Linked DNA regions of Homo sapiens: all the other regions are linked to region 1. The links are contacts of gene promoters, found by promoter capture Hi-C in blood cells and fetal thymus (Javierre and others, 2016). All regions are on one chromosome and are shown on one strand. Each heading gives the region's core, a stretch centred on a gene start or on the middle of the fragment in contact. The rest is flanking DNA. Distances are from core to core; before and after follow the strand shown.

Region 1 (4,399 bases), core at 414-2,913:
CGAGGCGGGCGGATCACGAGGTCAGGAGATTGAGACCATCCCGGCTAACACGGTGAAACCCCGTCTCTACCAAAAATACAAAAAATTAGCCGGGTGTGTTAGCGGGCGCCTGTAGTCCCAGCTACTCGGGAGGCTGAGGCAGGAGAATGGCGTGAACCCGGAAGGCGGAGCTTGCTGTGAGCCCAGACCGCGCCACTGCACTCCAGCCTGGGTGACAGAGCGAGACTGTATCAAAAAAAGAAAAAAAAAAAATAGCTGGGTGTGGTGGTGTGCGCCTGTGGTCCCAGCTACTCCGGAAACAGGTGGGAGGATCGCATGAGCCCCGGGGGATGGAAGTTGCAGTGAGCTGAGTTAGAGATCGCGCCACTGCACTCCAGCCTGGGTGACAGAGCCAGACCCTGTCTCTAAAAATATATATAAAACAACAATAGTAAAATAATAAATTGGCTGGACATGGTGGCACCCACCTTAAGTCCCAGCTACTAGGGAGGCTGGGGCAGGAGGACTGCTTGAGCCCAGGAGTTCGAGGCTGCAGTGAACTATGATCAGGCCACTGAATTCCAGTCTGGGCGACACAGCAAGACCCTGTCTCAAAAAAAATTAAAGCAGTAAAATTCACAGAGACAGAATAATGGTTGCTAGGGGCTGAAGGGAGGGGGAAATGGGGAGTTTGTTTAATGGGAGTAGTTTCAGTTTTGCCACATGAGAAAAGTTCTGGAGATGACGGACGGCTGCACAACAATATGAATGTAGTCAACACTACTGAACTGTACATTTAAAAATGGTTAGGATGATAAACTTTATTTTTCATAAAACCCAGTTTCTGCACAAAAAGATAAAATTTATGTTATGTGTACTTTACCACAATTTAAGAAAAAATTTAAATTCTCATCCCAACATTACCACGCCCCCCACCCTTAGCCAACTGGTGAATGTTTACTCATTTTTCAACGCCTAGCTCAAATGTCTCCTCTTGCCACGCCATCCCTTAGCTGACCACCCTTGTAGTTGGCCATTCCCTCTTTTATGCCAACACTGTGCCCTGCACGTACATTATACCTCTTACAGCACTTATCAAACCTAGTAATTATTGCTTTACAGATCCGTTTCCACTACTAGATTACAAACAATTTGGGGGCGGGGACCTTGTTTTACTCATCTCTGTATCCCCTAGACTTAGGGCTTGATAAGCTGAAAAGAATCAAGAAGGGCTTGATTAATTAAGGCTCCTCTGGCTTTTAAGGAGACCATACTGGAGGGTCATTTGCCCAAAAGAAGAGGCATCGGGGTCTCCTCAGGTTTTAGAAATCTGGTCAAACATCCAGAGCTGACTCCCACACCCTACTGCGAGAAGAGCGCGAGCGCGCGTCTCAAAAGGCTCCGCCTCAACAGTTCGGGTCCCCAGGAGGATCCGGGGGCCACCCCACCTCCACCCTGGGCCAGGTCGGTTAGCTAGACCCGCCCAGCGGTCCAGACATACCTTAGGTAATGAGCAGCCTGCTCTGGGCTCAAGGCCTCGGCTTCCGGAAACCTTCGGGATGCCTCCATGACCCTCGGATTGGGTTCCAGTTACCCCGGCGGGAGTTTGGAGCTTGGAGCTTGGAGCTTGGAGCTTGGAGCTTAGAGTTTGGAGCTTGAATTTCGCTCACTCCCGCCCCGCGCATGCTCTGTGCGCCGTGGAGAGGGACACAGCCAACCGACGGCCTCGCGGCCGGCCAATCCGCGACCACGCGCTGCGACGCCTCCGCCTGAGCCCCGCCCATGACGGTGGGCGCCTGCGCCTACGCGCGCCGGGAAGCAGAAGGTGATCTCTGCCTTCGAGACACGGAGTGTGCTGCCTCAGTCTGTGATCCCTCGCGTTTCAATCCAATTCAAACCATGCTGCAGCCAATTCGTTCGCGCGTGCGTGTGCCATCATTGTGAGTGGAGGAGACTGCCCGATATGATCCCAGTCATTGCGGCGACCCCTGGAGATCTCCAACGCCTGCGTCCCCCAACCATACCCTGCCCCGCATCCACAGATATCTTCCCTTCCTTGATCGCCAGTACCTGGCACTGACCGTGCTTTGAATTCAAACACCCTGGGAGGCATAGTCCCTGTGATTTAAACTAACATTGAAGAAGCGACCAGACGCGGTGGTTCACGCCTGTAATCCCAGCACTTTGGGAGACCGGGGCGGGCGGATCACGTGAGGTCAGGAGTTCGAGACCAACCTGGCTAAAATGGTGACACCCCGTCTCTACTAAAAATACAAAAAATTAGCCGGGCGTGGTGGCGGGCGCCCGCAGTCCCAGCTACTCGGGTGGCTGAGGCACGAGAATCGCTTGGACCCAGGAGGTGGAGGTTGCAGTGAGCCGGGATTGCACCACTGCACTCCAGCCTGGGTGGCAAAGCGAGACTCCATCTCAAAAAAAAAAAAAAAAAAAAAAAAGGCTGGGTGCAGTGCCTCACGCCTGTTATCCTAGCCTTTTGGGAGGCTAAGGTGGGAGGATCACTTGCACTTAGGAGTTCGAGACCAGCCTGGGCAACATGGTGAGACTCCCGTCTCTTTAAAAAAAATTTTTTTCTTCTCCACAGGGCGTTATGCTGTATTTATTTTCTTAAAAAGAGAGAGAGAAAGAGAGAAGGGTCTTCAAGAATCTCAAACCCTGGAGGTGGAGGCTGCAGTGAGCCAAGATCATGCCACTGCACTCCAGCCTGGGTGACAGAGAAAGACTCCATCTCAAAAAAAAAAAAAAAATTAAAGTTCTTATTTAAGAAATAAGTAACTAGGTTCACATACTTGGTATAATAAAAGGAAGACAAAAATAATTTAAAAAAAAAGAAGTAGTGCTGTGGTCATCATTTCTTCAGAAGCACCAACTAAGATACAGTCATTTTCAAATGCAGAGCCTAAAAAGAAGGCAGAGCCTAGAGCTTAAGGAAATGTGATTGAGTTTAAGTGGCTTGCTTGGGTGACACTAAATAGGAGGTTGTGGGCCAACAAAAATTGTCCTTGTTCATATACTGTTAAGAACACAGACATGACTCCTCAAGACACTAATTTAGCATTCAGTATTGGAAAACTCACCTATTGGCCCAGTCATACATCATATGTCCAGAGAATTTTAAGCTTTTCATAAAATTTATAGACCGTTATGAGTTAAAAGGAATGTTGGAGGCCGGGTTCAGTGGCTCACTGAACCTGTAATCCCAGCACTTTGGGAGGCCGAGGCGGGCGGATCACCTGAGGTCAGGAGTTCAAGACCAGCCTGGCCAAATGGTGAAACCCCCGTCTCTACAAAAATTAGCTGGGCATGGTGGCGGGTGCCTGTAATCCCAGCTTCTCGGGAGGCTGGGGTGGAAGAATCGCTTGAACCCAGGAGGCAGACGTTGCAGTGAGCTGAGATCGTGCCATTGCACTCCAGCCTGGGCGACAGAGCAAGACTCCATCTCAAAAAAAAGAAAAGGGTTGGGGGGAGGTGGGGGATCTTGGAGAACATGGGCTATTTTCCTGGTTTGTATGACTTTAAGGCCTTTATTAAGAGGCCTTTTAGTATACTATTATCCACATTTTTCAGATGTGGAAACAGGCTCAGAGAGATAAATTGACTTCATCTAAGCTTCCTGAGCTAGGAAGCAGCAGAGCCAGAATTCAATACTAGGTCCATATGGACACAAATCTGTGCCGTTTCGCTGTGTCACACTGGAAAGAAGAGGGCAGTGGCGGGAAATGAGGTTGATGAGGCAGTTGAAGGCCAGGTTATGAAGGAACTTGTTTACTCTGCTAAAGTGTTTGAATCACATCTTTTCCTGGAGGCAAGCTTGGATTGGGCTGTGCTATGGTCTGAATGTCCTTCAAAATTCTTGTGTTGAAACTTAATCCCCACCATGGTGGCATTGAGAGGCGGGGCCTTTTAGCAAGTAATGTCATGAGGGATCCTACTTCATGAATAAATTAGTGCCTTATGAAAGGGCTGGAGGGAGCTAGTTTAGGCCCTTTTTGCTCTTCTGCTTTCCTACCATGTAAGGACACACTATTCCTTCCCCTCCAGAGGATGCAGCAACAAGGCACCATCTTGGAAGCAGAGAGCAGCCCTCACCAGATACCAATCCTGCTGGCACCTTCATCTTGGACTCTTCAGCCTCCAGAACCATAATAAATACATTTCTATTGTTTATAAATTATGAGTTTGATGGCCAGGTGAGGAGGCTCACGCCTGTAATCCCGCCCTTTGGGAGGCTGAGGCGGGCAGATCATCTGAGGTCGGGAGTTCGAGACCAGCCTGACGGAGAAACCCTGTCTCTACTAAAAATGCAAAATTAGCCGGGCATGGTGGCACATGCCTGTAATCCCAGCTACTTGGGAGGCTGAGGCAGGAGAATCACTTGAACCTGGGAGGCGGAGGTTGTGGTGAG
Region 2 (4,653 bases), core at 1,135-3,634, 210 kb before region 1:
CCCTCGTGAGTTGCCTACCAAACCCATGATGGGTGGGAGTTTAGGAGTGTGAGGTGTTGAGTTTGCTGCTGCTGCTGCTGCCGCTGCTGCTGCTGCTGCCACTGCTGCTGCTAGAGGAATGGAGGCCAGAGGGTGCTAGGAACCCTATGAGAAAAGCAGATGGCAACATGTCCAGCCCCAGCCATCTGTGACTCTGGTGGCATGGAACCACTCAGCTAAGGTGAATGGGATTCAGTCTGCTCCAGCTGCATGTGCAGTGGGCCAGGAGCCACTCAAGGTCTTCTTGGGCTTACTTTTTTCAACTTTGTTGGATGACTACAAGCAAGGCTTTTAGCTTTTAAGGACTTCAGTTTACACTTCAGGGAAAATGACTTAATGCTACTCAGCTGAAAGGGGGAAGCACAAAGGAAGAGGTAGAGAAGGCAAACTGGGTTTGTGATAGAGATTCAAGGAGAGCTCGAGATTTCTGTGAGCTCAAGGATGTTTTCCCCTATTATTTTAGGAATAATTCATTCATTTATTTGTGTATTTAATCAGCAAGCATCAGTTAAATGCCTATTGGTGCCCGTCACTGGTGTCAGGGAACCAGCAATCCAATATGGCAGCAGGTCCTTCCGCCTGGCCTCCTTCCCCAGATCTCTACTCCTCCCTTTCCCTCACCCCTCAGCTGATTTGAGAGAGGAAGGGGCACTAGCTTCTAGTGTACTGAGGTGACATGATAAGGTCATGATAGGTGCTGACATTGTTGGCACTAGAGTGGGTACATCTCATTTGACAACACTCTCTCTTGAAAGAGATTTGGGCCTGGGTCCCAAACATTACCTCAGCCACTGGGAAGGATTTTGAAGGTCAGGAAACAACAGGGATCCACAAGTTCAGCCTAACCCCTCCCTGACAGAAGGGGTGGCCCAGGCCTTCTTTGGACATTGTCGGTAGAGCTGGGCCCCTGGTTGGGTCCTCAGCATCATATGTGGACCAAGCGTTGTTTGGATTTGCCAAGAACATCTAAGGACTTTGGTCTTTGTGATTTAAGTAAGTTGTCATAACTTGGGCAGGAGGCATGCTGGGATCTCAGCCACCTGGCTGTTGGGGAAGGGATAGGGTTGGGAATACTGGCTCTTGGGTGGTCCTTTGGGTGTGGAAAGCTTAGGCATGGCATAGACAAGCATGTATGTGTGTATGATATAGGAAGTATCCCCCAGGAGAAAAGGCCCGGCAAAAGCAAGGCAGAGTCTAACCCTGTCCAAGTAGGGTTGGGGTTCAGGACTGGAGTCATAACTGGCAGCTCACACAAGGACCTAATGCATACAGAGGAAGGGCAGTGAGACCAATGCCAGCGCCTGTGTACTCTGCTCTCACCCTGCTCAAGCAGAAATGGGAGTGGTGGAGCCAATGGGTGAGCTTCATGACTTCAGCTGAGAGGGCTGAATTGGCCTGCTCGGGGCTGCCACCACCCTACTTAAAAACAAATCCTCATAGCCCAGCTACCACTGCACTGGGTGTTTGCGACTGAACTGGGCTTATCTAAAGGGTTATTTGTGAGCCTGGAAAAGGGATAGGGAATAGGCCATGATGTCCTGAGGCTATGACAGTAGCACTTTGCTAACTTATCCTTGTCCACCCTTCCAATCCCACTGTGGCTGCTCCTGCCTCCTCAGGAAGGGATACCTCCAAGCTCAACTGCCCACTCCTGCAGGTAGGCCTACTGCCCTCGCACATGCTCTGCCCACTTCTTGGATTGCTGGGCTCTGGCTGCAAGCCCTCAGAGCTCCTGTCATTCCTTTGCAGAACAAAGCAGCTACTCCAAGCAAGTGGTGCAGAAGGGTGGCTGGTGGAGGGGAGGCGGAGAAAATGTCAGGGGCTTATGTCAGGAAAGTTGAATGCTTGCCAGCAGCTGGGCCTTCCCATCTAGGGTGACTTCATGAAAGAAGCCCTTGAAAGATTGTTCCCTCTCCCTTGTAAGGGTGCATTTTTGGGAATCACTTTGTTTTCCTCTCCATTTTCTCTGCAAGTCTGATTGTTTGAGGAGAGCTAAACGTTATGTGTACTATTAAAGAAAAAAAAAGTGGAGAAAACCACCCCTTAAATGTAAAGCTGAGTAATTTCAGGAAAGGAATCCAAGGGAATGAGGTTTCTGCCCAAGTATGGGAAAATATCCATCCATCTCCCCACTTAATCAGAAAAATGATCTGCCGAATAATGAGTCATGCTGCCTGTCAGCAAACAGCACTGACCCTAGCCACAGAGCCAGGAATAACAGAGGTGAGAGATGACAGTAGCTATGACGAAGAAAAGACATGAAGGGAACTGGATTCCTGCTGCCAGCAGCTGTTTGGCTCACCTTTGCCCCGTCCTGTGCAATAAAAAATGCACTGGACTGGGCTGTGTTATTGGTGACACTGATCAATACCACTGGGGTTCATCTGTGCATTCTGATAAGTGGGGTCTCCGCAGGGGGCACTCAGAATCAATCACAGCTTTGTGCACAGTCTGGGAGTTCTTTTTTACTGAGGAAAGCATATATACAGTAAATTGCATAAAGCACACTGTAAATGTACATTTCAATGAAGTTGTATATGTATATGTGTGTGTGTGTGTGTGTATACATCTGTGTGTAACCACCACCCAGATCAAAATATAGAACATTCGCAGCACCCCAGAAGGCTTACTTTTGCCCCTTCCATTTGGTATTTACACGCACCAAGTGCTGCAATCAAATGTTTGTGATCAGTGGCATGCTGGTAAATGTTTAACAACCAGTTCTGGTGTGTGTAATGGGGTGCCCTGCTTTGTAGCTTTTGCCAATTTTGTGGTATAAATATTCCTGCTATGGCTAATTTCGAGCTACCAACAGTTTAACAACTGGCTCACAAAATTATGAAAATTTAACAATTGGCTCTGGTGAGCCAAGCAGACTGGCTCCAGCACATCACCAGTTGTAACAAAGGATTAAAGAGAGCCAAGTCCACCCAACTACCCAATGCAGGTAGGAGTGGGCTCCCAAATACTCCCAGTTCCAGCCCCCTTAGTGAGGAGAGAATCGTTCATAGGATTTAAAGTGATCTCCAGCTTCTTTTATGCAGCAGACATCGGTTGTGTCCCTACCTTGTGGCAAGCTCTAAGGTCACGAACATGAGTAAACCATGGTTCTATCCCTCAAGGAGCTTACATAATTTAACACTCGGAAGGAGAGGCGGACGTGTGAAGGTATATGTGCAATAAAGAGTTCTAGGGTCTGTGTAGGAGACTGCATGGGGCTTAATTGAGGGCACCAAGGAGGGCTCATTTCTGCCTTTGAATCAGAAATACATCTCTTATTCCACTTTGCTTTGGGAGGTGTCTTGGGGCCGAGGAAAAGAGCATCAGACTCCTACACACCTGTTTTGGATCCTGGTTCCACCTCTTCCATGCTGTGTGATCTTGGGCAGGTCACTTAACCTCTCTGAGCCTCAGGTCCCATATCTATAGAATGAGAGTAATTGTAGTACCTACCTTACACAGCTATTGTGAGTATTAAATGAGCTATTTCATGTGTAGCACTTAGCACACATAAGCACTTACTAATTATTAGCTTTAATTAGGAATTATTAGCTTCAATTAAGAATTATTAACAACTAGCTTGGACAAGCTTTGAACCTCTCTAGGACTCATTTTCATCTGTGAGATGGGATTAAAGTGCCAACCTTGTCAGTGTTGTCATGAGAATTAAATTAGATCATGTATGTGAATTGTCTGGCCCAGAGCTGGTTCTCAGCAAATGCTGGTTTGCCCCTTTCCTGCTTTCTCGCTCCTTTCCAACACACTGGCTTAAGACCTCGCTTGGAAAAAAAAAAAAAAAAAACCAGTTCTGACATGTTAGGAAATAAATATATCAAGTGAACACATTAACCCTTTTTAAAAGCTTTTTATTTTGCAATTTTAGACTCAAGGGAAGTTGCAAAAAAATTTACAAGGTGGATCTGGTGACCCTTTACTCAGTTTTACAATGTTGACATCTTACACAACTGGGAAAGTGATGTTGGTACAATCCGCAGAGCGTATTCAGGTTTCACGTTTTACATGTCATGTACTCTGTATATGAGTGTGTATATCATTTCAAACAATTTTATCACATGTATAGATTTGTATAACCATCACAATTGGGATGCAGAACTTCTAGTAACTGGCCACTGAAGTAAAAAAAAAAAAAAAAAATAAGCCAGGCGCGGTGGTTCATGCCTGTAATCCCAACACTTTGGGAGGCCAAGTTGGGCGGATCACCTGAGGTCAGGAGTTCAAGACCAGCTTGGACAACATGGCGAAACCCCATCTCTACAAAAAAATATAAAAATTAGCTGGGCGTTGTGGCAGGGACCTGTAATCCCAGCTATTCGGGAGGCTAAGGCAGGGAGAATTGCTTGAACCCGGGAGGCGGAGGTTGCAGTGAGCTGAGATCATGCCACTGCACTCCAGCCTGGGCGAAAGAGCGAGACTCAGTCTCAAAATGGTAATAATAATAATAAAAAGGAGATGCAGAACTGTTGCATCACCACAAAGATCTTCCTCATGCTACCTCTTGGTATTTGTACCCATCTACTACCCACTCCCCTCATCAGCTAACCCCTGGTAAGCAAGAACCTATTCTTCATCTATATGACTTTTTTAATTTCAAGA
Region 3 (4,216 bases), core at 253-2,752, 230 kb before region 1:
TGGGTTATTCCCAGTTTTGGGCTCTTATAAATAATGCTGCTATAAACCTTCACGTAACAGGTTTTTATGTGGAAATAAGTTTTCATTTCTCTGGGATAAATGCCCAAGAGTACAATTGCTGAGTCATATGGTAATTGCATGTTTAGTTTAAAAAACAAAAAACAAAAAACTGACGGCCAGGTGCGGTGGCTCACACCTGTAATCCCAGCACTTTGGGAGGCCAAGGTGGGCGGATCACGAGGTCAGGAGATCAAGACCATCGTGGCCAACACGGTGAAACCCCATCTCTACTAAAAATACAAAGATTAGCCAGGCGTGGTGGTGCGCACCTGTAGTCCCAGCTACTTGGGAGGCTGAGGCAGGAGAATTGCTTCAACCTGGGAGGTGGAGGTTGCAGTGAGCTGAGATCTTGCCACTGCACTCCAGCCTGGATGACAGAGCGAGACTCCATCTCAAAAAAAAAACAAAACTGGCAAACTGTTTTCCAGAGCGGCTGTACCATTTTACATTCCCACCAGCAATGTATGAGGATTCCAGTTTCTTGGCATCCTCATCATCATTTGGTGTTCTCACTGTTTTCCCTTTTAGCCGTTCTTCTCTAGGTGTGAAGTAATATCTCATTCTGGTTTCAATTCTCATTCCCCTAAGATTAGTGATGTTGAACATTGTTTCATGAGCTTCTTTGCCATCTGTATATCTTCTTCAGTGACTTGTCTATTTATGTCTTTAGCCCATTTTCTGGTTGAGTTGTTTGAATTTTTAACTGTCGAGTTTTGACAGTTCTTTATACATTTTAGATACCAGTCCTTTGTCAGACATATGGTTTGCAAACATTTTCTCTTGGTCTGAAGCTTTTTCTCATCCTCTTAACAAGGACTCCATAGAACAAAACTTGCTAATTTTGATGAAGTCCAATTTATCAATTTTGTTTTTTTGGATGTGTTTTGGTTTTCAAGTATAAGGTCTGGCTTATATGGCTAGCTTTAGATTCCAAACACTTTCCTGTTTCTTCCTAAAAATTTTATAATTTTACATTTAAGTTTCTGATCCATTTTGTTGATTTTTTTTTTGTATAAGGTGTGAGATAGATTATATCATTTCCTGAGGCTGCCGTAACAAGTAACTGTAAACTTGGTAGCTTTAAACAACAGAATGTATTCTCTCATGATTGTGGAGGCCAGAAGTCTGAGCTTAAGGTGTGGGCAGGGTTGCACTCCCTCTGGAGGCTCTAGGAGAGGATCCTTCCTTGTCTAGTCCCGCTTCTGCGGGCTGCCAATACTCCTTGGCTTATGGCCATGTCACTGCAATCTCTACCTCCATCTTCACATCATCATCTCCTCTGTGTGTCCGTCTTATAAGGATACGTGTCATTAGATTTAGGACTCACTTGAATCCAGAATGATCTCCTCATCTTAATTATACTTGCAAAAGCTCATCTTCCAAATAAGGTAACATCCCTAGGCTCCGGGAATCAGGACGTAGACGTATCTTTTGGGAGGGCACCATTCAGCCCACTACACAGGTCAAAGTTCATTTTTTGGTCTATGTCCAGTTGCTCCAGCACCATTCAAAAAGGCTATCTTTCTTCCATTGAATTGCTTTTGTACCTTTGTTGAAAATCAGTGGGGCATATTTGTGTGGGTCTATTTCTAGGTTCTCTACTCTGTTTCATTGATCTGTGTGTCTGTCCCTCCACCAATACTACATAGTCTTGATTATTGTAGCTACATAATAAGTCCTGAAATTGGATAGAGTGATTCCTCCCACTTTATTCTCCCTTTTCAAAATTGTTTTGGCTATTCTAGTTTCTTTGCCTTTCCATATAAATTTTGGAATAAACTTGTCTATGTTTAAAATATCCTCCTGGAATTTTGATAGAGATTGAGCTAAAACTATACATAAATTTGGGGAGAACTAACATCTTTACTATGTTAAGTCTTCTGATCCATGAATGTGGCATATTTCTTTCTCTATTTAGGTCTTCTTTGATTTCTGTCATCAGCATTTTGTAGTTTTCAGCATATAAGCGCTATACATATCTTGTTACATTTACACTTAAGTATTTTGTTCTTGAGCAAGTGTAAATGGCACTGTATTTTTAATTTCAGCATCCATGTGTTCATTGCTAGTATATAGAAATACAATTTATTTTTGCAAGCTTATCTTGTATCCTGCAACCTTGCTAAGCTCACTTATTAGTTCTAGGAATTGTCTTGTAGATTCCTTGGGATTTTCTATGTAGACTATAATGCCGTCTCCAAATAGGAGCAGTTTTATTTATTCTTTTATAATCTACATGTTTTATCTTTTCTTTTTTCTTCTTTTTTTTTTTTTGCCTTATTACACTGGTTAGAACTTCCAACACTATGTTGAATTAAGGTGGTGAGAGCAGAGATCCTTGCCTTGTTTCCAATCTGAGGGGGAAAGCATTTAGTCTTTCAAGCATTGTGTTTAATGTTAGGTATAAGTCTAATATTGCTTGATCCAGAAAAAAATATATATATATTTGGTGTAAGTTGTATGTAGATGCTCAAGTTAAGGAAGTTCCCTTTTTGCCCTATTTCTCAGAGTTTTTTTTAACTTATAATAAGTGTTAGATTTTATCAAATGCTTTTTCTGCATTGATTAATATGATCATGTGATTTCTATTAGTTTGTTACACTGATTGTGTAGAATTAGCATACAATTCTTTAAACATTTGGTAGAATTCTCCAGTGAAACCATCTGGACCTGGAGATTTTAAAGGGAGTAGTTTTAAAATTATGAATTTCATGTTTTTAATAGTTATAGGGCTATTCAAATCATCTATTTCATATTTGGTAGATTTGGGAAGTTTATATTTTTCAAGAAATTGGTCTGTTTCATCAAAGTTGTCAAAGCATGTAGCATTGTTCATAGTATTCCCTTATTACCCATTTGATGTCTGAAGGCTCTGTAGTGATATTCATTTCCTTCCTGATATGAGCAATTTGTATGTCTTGCTAGAGGTTTGTCAATCTTACTGATCTTTTCAAAGAAGCAGCTCTTTATTTCATTGATTTTCTCTATTTTTCTATTTTCAATTCTGCTTATTTATGCTGTTATTTTTATTATTTTCTTCCTTCTGTTTGCTTTGGCTTTATTTTGCTCTCCTTGTTCTAGTTACTTGAGGTAGGAACTTAGATGATTGATTTGAGACCTTTTTTCTTTTATAGTATAAGCATTTGGAGCTATAAACTTCTTTTTAAGCATTGCTTTAGTTGCATCTCATAAATTTTTCTATGTTGTATTTTCATTTTGATTCAGTTCAATGTATTTTTAAAATTTATCTTGAAATTTAAATTTTCATATTTGACCCATGGGTTATTTTAAAGTGTGTTGTTTATTTTTCAAGTTTTAGATATTTTCTTATCTTTCTGTTATTGATTTCCAATTTGGTCACAGAATACATTTCATTTGATTTCAATTATTTTAAATTTGTTGACATTTGTTTTATGACACAGGATATGTCTAACATGTTTTGTATTCCATGGGCACTTGAAAAGGATGTGTACTCTTCTGCTGTTGGATGAGATGTTCTATAAATGTCAAATCAAATCCTGTTGTTTGAGGGTGTTGTTGAGTTCCTATATACCCTTGCTGATTTTCTATCTAGTAGGTCTATCCCAGATGCCTGCTCAGCCTTCTCTGACTTCACCCCAGTGGGGAAATTTGGGGCACCTGGTTATAGCTTAGCAAGGGTGAAAAGCTATGTTTTCAACCCCTCCTTTGCTGGTGGGGTTGGGAACGGGACCACATATTTTTTTCTGTGGTATTTGGCTAAAGAATTAGTGTATAAAAATTTCTGTCTTGGTAAGAGAGCATGATTTTTAAAAAATCTGCCCCTGTTGGTATTTTCAGTTTGCAGACTTTTTCAGCTTCAACTCTGGGATATATGAGGCAAAACAAAAATCCAGGGAACTCACCACATGCCGTTCCTTGAGTCCTGAGGTCTCTTGCAGGTGTACATTCTTCTCTCCACCTCCTCTCCAGTCTTTTTGTGTTCATTTTATATATAATGCTCACGGTTTTTTGTTGTGCTTTAGAGGGAGGACCAGGGAAAAGTATGTCATTCCATCTTCCCAGAAGCAGAAGTCCTAACTTATTCTTTTAAAATGTTATGTAACTTTGCAGAGTATGACTTTTATCAGGATTTATTTAACTATTCACCCATTGATGAACTTTTAGGTTGTTTCTT

What was found. Contacts are between HindIII fragments. The CHiCAGO score rates a contact against its expected background, and 5 or more counts as called.
Region 2: a fragment that was not itself captured here is called in contact with the fragment with the promoter of ERCC6L in region 1 in 1 of 17 cell types (neutrophils); the score reaches 6.0 in neutrophils.
Region 3: a fragment that was not itself captured here is called in contact with the fragment with the promoter of ERCC6L in region 1 in 1 of 17 cell types (neutrophils); the score reaches 5.7 in neutrophils.

The regions. Positions count from the first base shown.
Region 1 is chrX:72,237,364-72,241,762 of GRCh38, forward strand. ERCC6L (ERCC excision repair 6 like, spindle assembly checkpoint helicase) reads right to left here and starts at 1,664. Exons shown (of 2, transcript NM_017669.4): 1 at 1,481-1,664. The coding sequence starts at 1,548. It also overlaps a transcript of PIN4 not described here. RefSeq lists an enhancer at 1,446-1,595. The HindIII fragment of the contact is 5,695 bases long and covers 1-3,111 here.
Region 2 is chrX:72,027,914-72,032,566 of GRCh38, forward strand. All of the region lies in intron 1 of NHSL2 (NHS like 2), which reads left to right. Among named protein-coding and RNA genes, the nearest start is that of RTL5, 100 kb to the right of the region's middle. The HindIII fragment of the contact is 2,483 bases long and covers 1,144-3,626 here.
Region 3 is chrX:72,011,216-72,015,431 of GRCh38, forward strand. All of the region lies in intron 1 of NHSL2 (NHS like 2), which reads left to right. Among named protein-coding and RNA genes, the nearest start is that of NHSL2, 100 kb to the left of the region's middle. The HindIII fragment of the contact is 1,307 bases long and covers 850-2,156 here.